Regions from separate parts of the Homo sapiens genome. Here region 2 is linked to region 1. Evidence: promoter capture Hi-C in 16 types of primary human blood cells and fetal thymus (Javierre and others, 2016). All regions are on one chromosome and are shown on one strand. Each heading gives the region's core, a stretch centred on a gene start or on the middle of the fragment in contact. The rest is flanking DNA. Distances are from core to core; before and after follow the strand shown.

Evidence for each region. The method cuts DNA at HindIII sites, captures the fragments that hold promoters and counts their contacts. A CHiCAGO score of 5 or more calls a contact.
Region 2: a contact is called between a fragment that was not itself captured here and the fragment with the promoter of H3C2 in region 1, in 1 of 17 cell types (erythroblasts). The highest score is 5.9, in erythroblasts.

Annotation. Positions count from the first base shown.
Region 1 is chr6:26,029,953-26,036,407 of GRCh38, reverse strand. It overlaps H3C2 (H3 clustered histone 2), which reads left to right and starts at 4,309. Exons shown (of 1, transcript NM_003537.4): 1 at 4,309-4,819. The coding sequence starts at 4,348. The coding sequence ends at 4,758. H2AC4 (H2A clustered histone 4) reads left to right here and starts at 2,790. Exons shown (of 1, transcript NM_003513.3): 1 at 2,790-3,316. The coding sequence starts at 2,840. The coding sequence ends at 3,232. RefSeq lists enhancers at 1,873-1,932, 2,263-2,312, 2,716-3,345, 4,283-4,402, 4,443-4,672 and 1 more and a silencer at 2,833-2,932. The HindIII fragment of the contact is 2,287 bases long and covers 2,045-4,331 here.
Region 2 is chr6:42,021,400-42,028,121 of GRCh38, reverse strand. It overlaps LOC105375059 (a long non-coding RNA gene), which reads right to left. Exons shown (of 5, transcript XR_001744119.2): 5 at 5,882-5,998. It also overlaps a transcript of CCND3 not described here. Among named protein-coding and RNA genes, the nearest start is that of TAF8, 26 kb to the left of the region's middle. The HindIII fragment of the contact is 6,741 bases long and covers 1-6,132 here.

The sequences.
Region 1 (6,455 bases), core at 3,060-5,559:
CACTCTCTGGCACTTAGCAGGTTTTCAGTAAATATATGCTGAACTAATAATGCTGGATATACATCTCCCTCATGAACTCTCTAAATCCTTCTAATTTACATTGATCAATCTTCTTTTCCATGTGCTTTTGTATGATTTATTGCTCAAAATCTTTATTTTATATGCAGAACGTGCACTGCTATTTAATCTTCATGTACGTAAGTCCTCCCTTCTCTGAGTATAATCTCTTCAGGGCACTATCTGAGATAACTTTTTAACATCTCCATCATGAATCTTGTACCTTTTCAAAGAAAATGAGCCAGTGATTACTGATGTTTACGGCTATTGTTGAGGGTGAAGATCATTATAATTTTGAAAAGGGAAGTTGAATATTGTGAAGGGAAAGATAACACTAGAGTCAGAAGACTTGGGAGAAGGCAAAAAACAAACTAAAAATGAGCACTTTTAGTCTCCTGACAGTTTCTCTGAATCAAATCCATAGTTCTGTGACAGCGTTGGCTTAGAAGCAGATTTTTTTTTTTTTTTTTTTTGAAATGGAGTTTCGCTCTTGCCCAGGCTGGAGTGCAGTGGCACGATCTCGGCTCACTGCAACCTCTGTCTCCAGGGTTCAAGCGATTCTCCTGCTTCAGCCTATGGAGTAGCTGGGATTACAGGCTCCCACAACCACGCCCAGCTAATTTTTTGTATTTTTAGTGAAGACTGGGGTTTCACCATGTTGGCCAGGCTGGTTACGAACTCCTGTTCTCAAGTGATCTGCCCGCCTTGGCCTCCCAAAGTGTTGGGATTACAGGCATCAGCCACCGTGCCCAGCCAGGAGCAGATTTTTTTACACTCATGTTTCTTTTTCCTTCTGTCATCCTGTTTCAGTATAAGCAGACCACAGATAGAAGTAGTAGATACCTCAGAAATTCCTGGAATAATTAATCCACGTTCATCTGTACTCCATCTGCTCCTATCTCATGGAATATAAAAGGAAAAACACCAAGATTTCCCTAGGCAATCTGTCTTGATTTTAGGTTCCTCAACAGGAGAGCCAGACAATGGCTGTAATAATATTGTCCCGGCCAAGGAAAAACTTCCCCTTTGCCCTCCCAAGGTTTATGGAAAATTACTGGCAAAACACAGATTAACTGGAGAAAAGGCATATATATTTATTTCATCACAATTTTACAGGAGATTTTAGAATTAAGACTGAAAGATACAGGGGAAATTGCCCATTTTTATGCTTAGGTTCAACAAGATAAACAGCTGTATAGGGTACGATCTAATGCTAACAGACTGAGTGGGGAAGCCCCGCAAGGCTTGTCTGTCAAGATTCTTCTTGACCTCTCAGTGCAGCATTTCTTCCTTCTGGTTATAGGACAAGACTCTCTTTTAGAATGGGGGGTCTTATGACCTACAGGCAAACAAGGTAGGTTAGAGTAATACTTTTAGGTTTTATGGCTGGTTCTAGGGAAAAGGAGTTCTGGTTTGTATGGCCTACCTTGAGGAGGAATTCTGGTTTCTATGGCTAGACTTTGGGGAGAATGGGACTTACAGACAGGAAGGCAGAAGGTGGTCAGTGAAACACTTTTATAATCATAATCCCATTTTGAGTATTTCTGTGTTATGGAATGTTTGTTCTCTCATTTCCTGAAAGATTCCAGAGACTCCTCATTCAGTGTTGTGAAAAAGTTCAGGAAATGCAACTCAAAAATGTGCCACTTTGTTACGCTGATTTCTTTGAACTGAGGGCACCTAGGAAACAGTAAATTCAAGGAAGGGCTTTCGCTGAACTCTAATCAAAAATTTGAAAATTAAAAAAAAATTCAAAAAGGAATTTAGTTGTTAAGATTCACTTCCCTGGGGAATCTCATCAACCAGAGAAGATTAACTGTATCACAGGAGAGGAGACTGGTGGTTAACACCATCTAAACAGACTTTGTCACAGCTGTCACCTATTCTTTGAAACACCCATTTATTTTTCTCCAAAATCATATACTCTCCCCTAAGTTGCCTACATCCCCCTTCTTTCTCCCTTATGAATCAAGAGAGCTTATAAGCTTCTACAGTTCACTGGGATTTGGGGTATTCGCTTTTCTTCCCTCCCACTCCCCCTCCCCTTTTTTTGTCTTTGAGACACAGTCTTCTGGCTCTGTCGCCCACGCTGGAGTGTGGTGGCTCTATGTGAACTCACTGCAACCTCCTCCTCTCGGGTTCAAGCGATCCTCCCACCTCAGCTTCTCGAGTAACTGGAACTACAGGCGTGCACTACCAAGCCCGGCTTTTTTTTTTCTTTTTCTCCCCCGTTTCTTTTTTGGTTATTTTACTGGAGACAGGGTTTCTCCATGTTGTCCACGCTGGTCTCGAACGCCTGACCCGCCGTCCTCGGCCTCCCAAAGTGCTGGTATTACGGGCATGAGCCACTGCGCCCGATTTGAAGGACCTCTTAAATATCTATTTAGAAATTGGTCGGAGTCCACTCCTTTCCAAAAACATGAGTCACAATCCGGGAAAAGCACGAGCGGCTGAAAGTCAAAATAACCAGAACAAAACCTCCACTCATGCTTAAAAAAGGTATTTTGACAAAATCCTAATTCGGCCAATTATTATTAGTATTCAAGTCGAAGGCTCGTCAAGCCAGACTGGGGATTGGGTCAAACATAAACCTTACACCAGACGGAAGGATTACATGCAAATGAAGGATGCAGATTCTGATTTCCCATTGGGTATTTGACATTAGCCAATGGGAGAATTCCTCACAGCCTACCTCCAGTCAGTATAAATACTTCTCTGCCTTGCGTTCTAATGTAGTTTCATTACATTTTCTTGTGGCGATTTTCCCTTATCAGAAGTAGTTATGTCTGGTCGCGGCAAACAAGGCGGTAAAGCTCGCGCCAAGGCTAAGACTCGGTCTTCTCGTGCAGGTTTGCAGTTTCCTGTGGGCCGAGTGCACCGCCTGCTCCGCAAAGGCAACTACTCCGAGCGCGTCGGGGCTGGCGCGCCGGTGTATCTCGCGGCGGTGCTTGAGTACCTGACCGCCGAGATCCTGGAGCTGGCGGGCAATGCGGCCCGCGACAACAAGAAGACCCGCATCATCCCGCGCCACCTGCAATTGGCCATCCGCAATGACGAGGAGCTTAATAAACTCTTGGGGCGTGTGACCATCGCGCAGGGTGGCGTTTTGCCTAATATTCAGGCGGTGCTGCTGCCTAAGAAAACTGAGAGCCATCATAAGGCCAAGGGAAAGTGAAGAGTTAACGCTTCATGCACTGCTGTTTTTCTGTCAGCAGACAAAATCAGCCTAACAGCAAAGGCTCTTTTCAGAGCCACCTACGACTTCCATTAAATGAGCTGTTGTGCTTTGGATTATGCCGCCCATAAAGATGTTTTTGAGGTGTTTTTAATGGCTTTGAGTGTGGCACTTTTAGTAATTTGTCCTGCAGAAATTAGATCCATAGAAACCTCAGGAATTCTAGGTATGTGGGAGAAGTGCCATGCAGCACAAAACATGTTTACAGGGGTGATTCGCGTTAAGTTTCACACACAGCAGTTACTACATTTTAGAGGAAGGAAATTATACCCATGAGTGCATTCCTAACTATCTTGAATGGAAGTGTTAAAACCCGCATGCCCCACACAAGTTTGAATATGTCATACCATTTGCTGTAGCAATTAATGGCATACACAATTGAGAGCACACACATTACCACTGAACATTTGAGTATGTATTTCCCAAAATGAGCTTTTTTCCAGTTTGGGGATGTTTTGCTTTGTTTTGGGGTGGAGTCTCCCTCTCGCCCAAGCTGCAGTGCAGCGGCGTGATAACAGCTCACTGTAACCTCGAACTCGGGCTCAAGCGATCCTCTTGACAGCCTTCTGAGTAGCTGGGATTACAGGCGAGAGCCGCCACGCCCGGCTAAGAGCATTTTTCTAATTGCCCACACTTCTTATGCGACACCCAGAAAAATACAATTTTAAATAAAGCGCATATGCAAATTTCCCTAATCGTCTCCAATATTCTCTGATTTCTTTTTTATATTTTAACTAGAAACAATTGGAGGTTTCCGCGTTGCTTTGTGTGGTTGTAAATTTTAAGACTTCAGGAAACTTTTCCAGTACAAGACTTGTCCACAGTGGATATAGCAGCTAAGGGGTTAACAAAATGACGTCAGAGTAGCTACGGTAATGGGCAGGAGCCTCTCTTAATCTGCAACCAGGCACAGAGATGGACCAATCCAAGAAGGGCGCGGGGATTTTTGAATTTTCTTGGGTCCAATAGTTGGTGGTCTGACTCTATAAAAGAAGAGTAGCTCTTTCCTTTCCTCCACAGACGTCTCTGCAGGCAAGCTTTTCTGTGGTTTTGCCATGGCTCGTACTAAACAGACAGCTCGGAAATCCACCGGCGGTAAAGCGCCACGCAAGCAGCTGGCTACCAAGGCTGCTCGCAAGAGCGCGCCGGCTACCGGCGGCGTGAAAAAGCCTCACCGTTACCGCCCGGGCACTGTGGCTCTGCGCGAGATCCGCCGCTACCAAAAGTCGACCGAGTTGCTGATTCGGAAGCTGCCGTTCCAGCGCCTGGTGCGAGAAATCGCCCAAGACTTCAAGACCGATCTTCGCTTCCAGAGCTCTGCGGTGATGGCGCTGCAGGAGGCTTGTGAGGCCTACTTGGTAGGGCTCTTTGAGGACACAAACCTTTGCGCCATCCATGCTAAGCGAGTGACTATTATGCCCAAAGACATCCAGCTCGCTCGCCGCATTCGCGGAGAAAGAGCGTAAATGTAAAGTCACTTTTTCATCAGTCTTAAAACCCAAAGGCTCTTTTCAGAGCCACCCACTTATTCCAACGAAAGTAGCTGTGATAATTTTTTGTTGTCTTAACAGAACAAATTTCTAAGGACCCCCCCGGAAAGCATTAGACTATGGTCTTAAAGTTGATTAACAGAAATAACGGTTTGGTCAGTCTTGCAGTGTAGGTTATTTCTGACCTTATTAAGGTGCTATTTGGAGAGAAGCTGTGTAAGTCCACTATCATTCAGGCCTCTAGCTTGCTATGATTAGCATTTGTTTAAACAACTTTGTAAGAGTAAGGGAAAAATCTGGTAAGTAGTTAACTGGCGCTTACTAGGCATTTTTGCAAAGCTTTGAAAAGATTAGAAAATTGTGTCTTGCGAGTTCCAGTGTCTTCCTCAAAATGCTTAGGAAGATTTTCTCAGCTCAATACATAGTCCCCTAGGTTTTCTCATATATTATATATATATATATATATATATATACTGTTAAATTCATTTGGCTGTTAACATTAACCTGAAATTTATTCTGGTGCAAAATGTGAGGCAGGGATCTAACTGGCTCTCATTTTATCCATAGCTAGCTACCCACTTTAAATCTGTCAGTCTGTCGACCAAGCATAATTTAATCCCTTATATATGAATTTTTATATGTGTGGCTTTGCTTGTAAATAGTCTATCTGGTTGCATTGCTTTGTCTCCTCTAGGACTATGCACCATGACATGCCACATTCTTTTTTTCAGTACTTCTTGCCTGTAGTTATTAAAATCTAGAATTTACAAGTTTTAACCATTTTCTTTCTGTTGATCTTGCTTTTCGGTTTTGGAGGTTGGGGATTGAGTACTGGAAGAAAATTTAGAGGGATGGGAATACTGTACGCAAACAAAAGTAATATTTACTTTAAAATTTTTATATTTTGTATTTTTTTATCATATAGCTTTTACATCACATTTTACAGACTAACTTTAGAACAACCACAGAATGTCCAACATTAAAACTACTAATTCCAAAGACCTTGCCTCACATTCTTTTTTACAATAAATATTTTTTACACCTAACATTCTTTCTTGGCCTACATCTAGAATGTAAACTGATGTACCATACTAAAATCGCCTGACCAACTGTCAACAACAACAAATCACACACACAAAAGATTAAATTTGAATTGCATCGTTTACTTAAATTCATTTGTGTTCCAGCTTTTAATAAGGCAGTTTTTGGTTTATAAAGTAATATTTGCATTTTAAAAATTATGAAAATGAATATGTCAGTTTGTTTTATGATTCGTTTTTCTTGACTCTTATACAAGCGACTCTAACTGGCATAGACATTTGTTATCCACAGACAGTATAGATATGTTAGAGATGCCAATGGACTTGGTCTATGCCAAGGTGACTACTCACAAGCTCTGGGCCCAGCTGAAGGTCAAGTATTTTTTTTCCAGTTATAGATGTGCTGGATCTGATGTATAGCGCTTGACTTTTTATATTTTCTTTATCTGTAGGAAACAAATGTGTTGGAGGTACTGGGTCTGACGAATAGCATAAAAGAATAAAGTTACATTACTGTCTGAGGATCAGATGGACAGGGGGTGGTAGCTCAGTCCAGCTATTTTCCACTCCCTCACTTACATTCTTTGCCCCCTCCTCAACAGAACAAGGATTCTGCTGTAACTCTTCATTGAC
Region 2 (6,722 bases), core at 1,513-4,012, about 16 Mb before region 1:
GCTAGGGACTTTACAAGTTTGTAATCTTCTCTCCACAAACCTGTAAGCAATTTTTACCCCCATTTCATAACGGGCGGCCGGGCGTGGTGTCTCACGCCTGTAATCCCAGCACTTTGGGAGGCCAAGGTGGGCGGATCACCTGAGGTCGGGAGTTTGAGACCAGCCTGACCAACGTGGAAAAACCCCGTCTCTACTAAAAGTACAAAATTAGCCGGGTGTGGTGGCAGGAGCCTGTAATCCCAGCTACTTGGGAGGCTGAGGCAGGAGAATTGCTTGAACCCAGGAGGCGGAGGTTGCCGTGAGCTGAGATTGAGCCATTGCCCTCCAGCCTGGACAACAAGAGCAAAACTCTTGTCTCAAAAACAAACAAACAAACAAACAAAAAAAACTGAGGCTTAGAGAGGCTAAGAGATCTGTCCAGGGTTACACAGCTGGTGAGCAGTGAGGAGGAGATTTGGGCTCTGGTGTTAAGCCCACACACTTTCTGCCCTCCTTACCACCTTCCCCATGGGTTGGGTTGGCCTGAGTACAGTGGTTTCCTGAGCAGGGAAGGAGATACGCAATTGAGAAATGGTCAGTTCGAGGGAGGAATAAATTGGGTATGGTGAGAGAGACATTCACCTCCAACCTCATTTGGCATTAGGTGGGGGTGGAGTCGGGTGTCTTTTTTTTTTTTTTTTTTGAGATGGAGCCTCGCTCTCTCACTCAGGCTGGAGTGCAGTGGCGCGATCTCGGCTCGCTGCAAGCTCTGCCTCCCGCGTTCACGCCATTCTCCTGCCTCAGCCTACCGAGTAGCTGGGACTATAGGCGCCTGCCACCAAGCCTGCCTAATTTTTTTGTATTTTTAGTAGAGATGGGGTTTCACCGTGTTAGCCAGGATGGTCTCGATCCCCTGACCTCGTGATCTGCCCGTCTCGGCCTCCCAAAGTGCTGGGATTACAGGCATGAGCCACCGCGCCCGGCCTAGTGGTGTCTTAACCACCTGGAAGGCACTCAGACACTTGGGAAGCTGACCTGATGGAGGTGAAGGGCTGGAGACATGGATGAGGACAAGGCCCCTTTTTCACGCCTTTACCCATCAGCATCTTGGCACCAAAGAATGGGCTGGGATAGGAACTAGGGGAGGTTAGGCTGCTGTAACACAGACTCCAACAAGAGTGGCTTAGCAAAATGGAAATTTCTCCCATACAGATCCGGGTGGGTGATCTGACCCCTTGGTGGTGTTGAGGGCCCAAGCCCCTCCTGTGCCCTTGCGTGTGGGAGATGGCATCCCACCATGGCTGCTGGGTCCGTCAGCCAGCCAGTGGGGAGGGAGGAAAGTGACGAGAAAGAAAAGGCACTGCCCTTCCTTTTCAGAGCATGACCTCAAAGTTGCCAGATGACATCCCTTTGGTCACCAGCTGATCACATGCCACACTTAGCTGACAGGGAGTTTGGGGAACATACATAGTGGAGCTTCTAGTACCAAAGGTACAAGAAGGGAAAGTGGATTTTAGGGGACAGTTGGCAATCTTTGCCATGAGATCTAGATGAGAAGGGTATGGGGAGCCTGTGTCATGTGGGTGAGGATGGCTTTCCTATGGGGACCTGCTGGGAGAAAAATGTTCCCAGCTGGACTTCTTTTTGTGAGGGGCCTAGAGCAGAGGGACCAGAACCCCCTTGGCTAATGCCCTCACGCTGGACTCCCTCCCCTCTGGTCAAAGGTGGAGGGTCTGATTCTCCTTCGCCTTGACCAGAGGCCCCTTGGAGGTCATCATGGAGCCCTTCTTCCAGGAGCACCCTGTAGGATCAGGGTGAGGTTCATTGAGGAGCACCATATTTTCCCCTTGGCAGGGGGGCGGCGGGGGGAGAGGGTCTGTGCTGTTCTCTGATGAGGTAGAGGAGGGTCATGTCTCCATCCCTTAGAGAGGTCGTTGAGAAGGTCAAATGTAATGTGAGCAGGGTCGAGGCAGGGAGGTCAAGGTTTGTCAAAAATAGGGGAAAAAGAGGTTTATTTTCAAACGAGACCTAACAATTGACAGATAGCTTATCCCTTTGATCACCAGTTGGTCACAGGTCACATTTAGCTGACAGGGAGTTTGGGGAACATACGTAGTAGAGCTCTTCTCTGGAGGTGGGAATCTCCATGTGGCTAGAGGCTGACAGGCAGCCTTGTGGGTCCAGTGCTGACTCATTCATTCACTCACTCATTAATTCACTCATCCGCTCAGTGTCTGTTTATTAAGTGCTTACCATGGATACACCGGGTACCATGTTCCGTGTGTGTGAAAAAGGAAAGAACAAGATGGGCACAGTCCCTTACCTCTGTAGCTTATAAGCCTTGTTTTCCCTGGTTCCCTTTCTGCCTCCCTGGGGAGGAGAGACCAGGCCATCACAGCTCTGAGAGAGCCACCCTTGTGACTCAGAGCCCAAAAGGCCCTAAGGGAGCCCATGAATGCATCTGATAGGCCCTCACCTCTGAGCCCGCCATCGTGGGGCGGCCGGGGTGCAGGATGGGCCAGAGTGCCGGAGGGGAGGGCAGTGGAGCATTGGAGGTGCGGTTTCACTTCCCTCTCACACCAGGCGTGGAATCTGATTTTTCTCAGTTTGGTGAGGTGTGTGACTTCTTCTGTGAGCTGAGGGGAGATGTCTTCACTCACCCCTCCTCCAACTCTAGCTGTCCCTCCAGTGTTCCAGGTTGGATGGGATCTCTCCTTCCCATTCTTCCCATTACCCGTGGCCCTAGTTCACCAACTGCACCTCTTTGCTCCAGGAAAGAAGGTGGCGTGGCAATTGGAAATCTCTGTGGAGACACTTCCTCTGTGAGGCCTTGGTCTCTCAGACTTCTCCCTGGGGCTTGGCTTCCTGGGCCCCTCTTGGCCTTGCTGGAAGAGAGGTCCCCCTGCCCTGGCCTGCTCGGAGAGCTGTCAGGCTCCCTGTTTCCTCTCACAGTTAGATCCCAGACCTTCTGTCTGCCTGCGTGCATGGGTCACTCTCACTTTATTCCCCAAGGCATGGCCTCATGCAGGCCCTGCTTTCCTCCCTGGATTTCTTTTTTATTTTATTTTATTTGACTTTATTTTTTGAGATGGAGTCTCACTTTGTCACCCAAGCTGGAGTGCAGTGGCATGATCTCGTCTCACTGCAACCTCCACCTCCTGGGTTCGAGCGATTCTCCTGCCTCAGCCTCCCACGTAGCTAGGATTACAGGTGTGCACCACCACACTGGGCTAATTTTGTATTTTTAGGAGAGACGGGGTTTCTCTCTATTAGTCAGGCTGGTCTCGAACTCCTGACCTCAGGTGATCTGCCCTCCTCAGCCTCCCAAAGTGCTGGGATTACAGGCATGAGCCACTGCGCCCGGCCCCTTAATTTTGTATTTTTAGTAGAGACAGGGTTTCACCATGTTGGCCAGGCTGGTGTCAAACTCCTACCCTCAGGTGATTCACCTGTCTCAGCCTCCCAAAATGGTGGAATTACAAGCGTGAGCCACCATGCCTGCCCTGCTTGCCTGGACTTCTGAGTGGCCCCAGCCTCGCAATGTCACTTCATGCTTTCCTGCTACTGAACAGTGCCAGTGGCATGGCTAAGGAGAGGGACCCTCCTCATCACTGAGGGTGGACTGAGATCCTCACAAGATGCAGGTTCTCCTTCCATGTCACTGGAGGCGCATAAACCCCTCTGCCTCTTCCACACACCAGCTGTGTTATCAGGGTGAATTATTATTATTTTTTTTTTTTGAGACTGAGTCTTGCTCTGTCACCCAGGCTGCAATGCAGTGGCGTGATCTCCGCTCACTACAAGCTCCGCCTCCTGGGTTCATGCCATTCTCCTGCCTTAGCCTCCCAAGTAGCTGAGACTACAGGTGCCCGCCAACATGCCTGGCTAATTTTTTGTATATTTAGTAGGGACGGGATTTCACCATGTTAGCCAGGATGGTCTCCATCTCCTGACCTCGTGATCCACCTGCCTCGGCCTCCCAAAGTGCTGGGATTACAGGTGTGAGCCACCGCACCCAGCCATGGGGTGCATTCTTAACCTCTCTGTGCCTCAGTGCCCTTATCTGTAAGTTGGAGATAATAATAGTATCCACCTTACAGGGCTATTAGGAGGATTACATGAGTTGTTAGGAGGCTTTATGCACGTACAGCACTCAGAACAGTGCCTGGCCCTAATAAGTGTATGTATTAGGCTGTTATTGTGACACAGGTGTTTGCCTGATGTAAACACTGGCAAAACTTTTAGGCCCCAATGCTAGTATATCAACCTAGGGATATCTAAGCCAAATAAAATAATAAAACCTTCAGAGTCAGTCTTAACGTACAGATTCCCCCATTGTACAGTTAAGATGGTCAGTGACAGGGTCAGGACCCTGCTTGCATCCTGTATTTTTTGCTTTTAGTGTTGGATTTTGTACTTAGTGTTTAATAGATGATAGATGGCGGATGGATGAGTAGATACAGACTGGCATTCACAGGTACCCAAAGGATACGGCTACCCTAGTTATTATAATATTTAAATACTACCAGTTCTCGCTATTCTCACCAGTTATATTCTGTACAGTCACCACGAACACCAAACTGGTGAACACTGGCCCATTGCTCCTAGGGGAAATACAGGGTTAGGTTTCTGTGAGCCACTGGTCACAAGACTTTCATCAACTAATCAATACATAACTTTGTTTTCTGTGTGTTTCTGTTTGAAGACACCTTATTGAATATATAGTTAACTCATTAACATTGAACTCATGCCCCACAGCACGATACTTCATGCCCAAACAAACCTGATCTAATGTATTTTCTCTGTAAGGCGCATACAGTCATCTTGTACTTAGAAACATTCGCCAGCACGTCAGCCCTAGGCTCGGGGGCCATTTCAAACAGCGAAATCAACAAAAAACCCAGCAATGCAGAAAAGGTGGCACTAAGTAGACTGTGACAAGGACACTTGTTTACATTACGAGAGCTGAAACAGGCAGAGCACTGCCCTGTCCCACCTCAGCCAGGAACATGCATGTTGGGTGACTCAAATTTTTCATGGCTTTGCGCATGTCTGTGAAAGATGACAAAGCACCTCAAGTATTGATTTCGGGGTCACAAATTTTAGCAAGGAGGCAAATTCACAAATACAGACTCCATGAATAATGGGGATTGGCTGTACCCGTACATGGTCCCCCTCTTAGTCCTATCCCCACAAGATGCAGCCATCTGCATATCTACTGCCTGGCCCAGCATGGGGCCTCCAGCACCCCGAGCCAGCTCTTAGGCCAGCGCCATCCCACTTGTTGACTCTCCCATCTCTCTCCTGGTGGTATAAATGTTGCTGCCCTGGCTGCACTGGCGGAGGGGTGAGGAAGCCCTGCCCTGCCACCTTTCCCCTTACGCTACTTCCCCACTGCACATGGGGCCTCCCTTGCGAGCCAGACCCACGCATGTGTAAAGGAAGGCGGGATGACACACAAGCAGAGGCCACCTGTGACTGCTCCAGGCCAAGTGCTGCATCAACACCTGGGGAAGACCCCCTGGCGGTTGGGGGGAGCCTGTTTTGACCTGATCTTTATTTACCCCTCAAAGGAAGTAAATAAATAGCTCTTTGTTTCTCTTTGTGGATGTGCCTGTACCACACTGGATGTGCCCGCTGCACACCGTTAAAAACCATGACCCAGCCCCAGAGGAAGTGGTAATACAACGATTGTTTGTTTTATTTTCCATTTATTCTTACATCTCCTCCCCGCCTCCATCCTCCACCCTTTTTGTGTGTGCTGAGAGGTTTTCTTTACCAACCTGGGATCCAATCATTTGTTCATTCATTTCTTCATTCACTCATTCCAGTGTGTACTGAACCATCATAGTGCTAGATACTGGTAAATATGAAAGACATTATAGGAGAAAGTGAGGGTGCTTTGGCCTGTGGATTCAGGCCAACTTGGATTCGGATCCTTGGAACTGTTTCCTGGCAAGATGATCGTGGATCTCTCCCAGCAGAATCATGGGCAAACTTCAGCCTTGTGGAACTCAATCTGAAAATTGAGATCATACTGTCTCATCTCACACGACTGTTTCAAGGATTAAAGACAGAGCAGTGATTTCCCCATGGTCAGCACTTAATATGTGATGCTTGCTTCCTTTAAGCTAGCAAGGTGGTAACAAAGCTTGGAATTTCTTCTCCGTCTCTCTTCCCTGTGGCTGCCAGCCTCCTTCAGCCCTTTATGGGCACCCACCTGGATTACTGTACATTTCTAAAGCTCAGAGACTGTTAGAGGCTTCCCAAGGCCTGCAAAATCAAATTCACCTTCTGTTGGTGTTCTGTTCTCCTAGGATCTGGGCTCAACTCACCTTTCCAGGCCTTTACCCACAGTGAATCTTTATAACCCTCTCCCTGCTAGCTAGATCTAATAGATCCTGGGGTGTTCCTGCTTCCATTGCTTTGTGCACACTGTCCCCCTTCCTGGAATGCCCTTTATCCTCCTCTCTCCATCCAAACTTGACCAGTCTTCAAAGCCCAGTTTAAATCCACCCAGTTCCTCCTCCCACATACCCTGCCTCCTGGGTGGTGTTTCCTAGTGTGTATTATGTGTGGATAACAACACCTATTATTGTCCTTACTAGACTAGGAGCTCTTTGAGGACAGGCTCTGTGTCTCATTGGTTTCCACCCTTCTCTCATTCATTCAGCACATGTGAAGGATGACTGCTCTGTGCCTTTGGGCCCGTCCGTGTTTCTCCAGCAGTGCCCATCACTCTG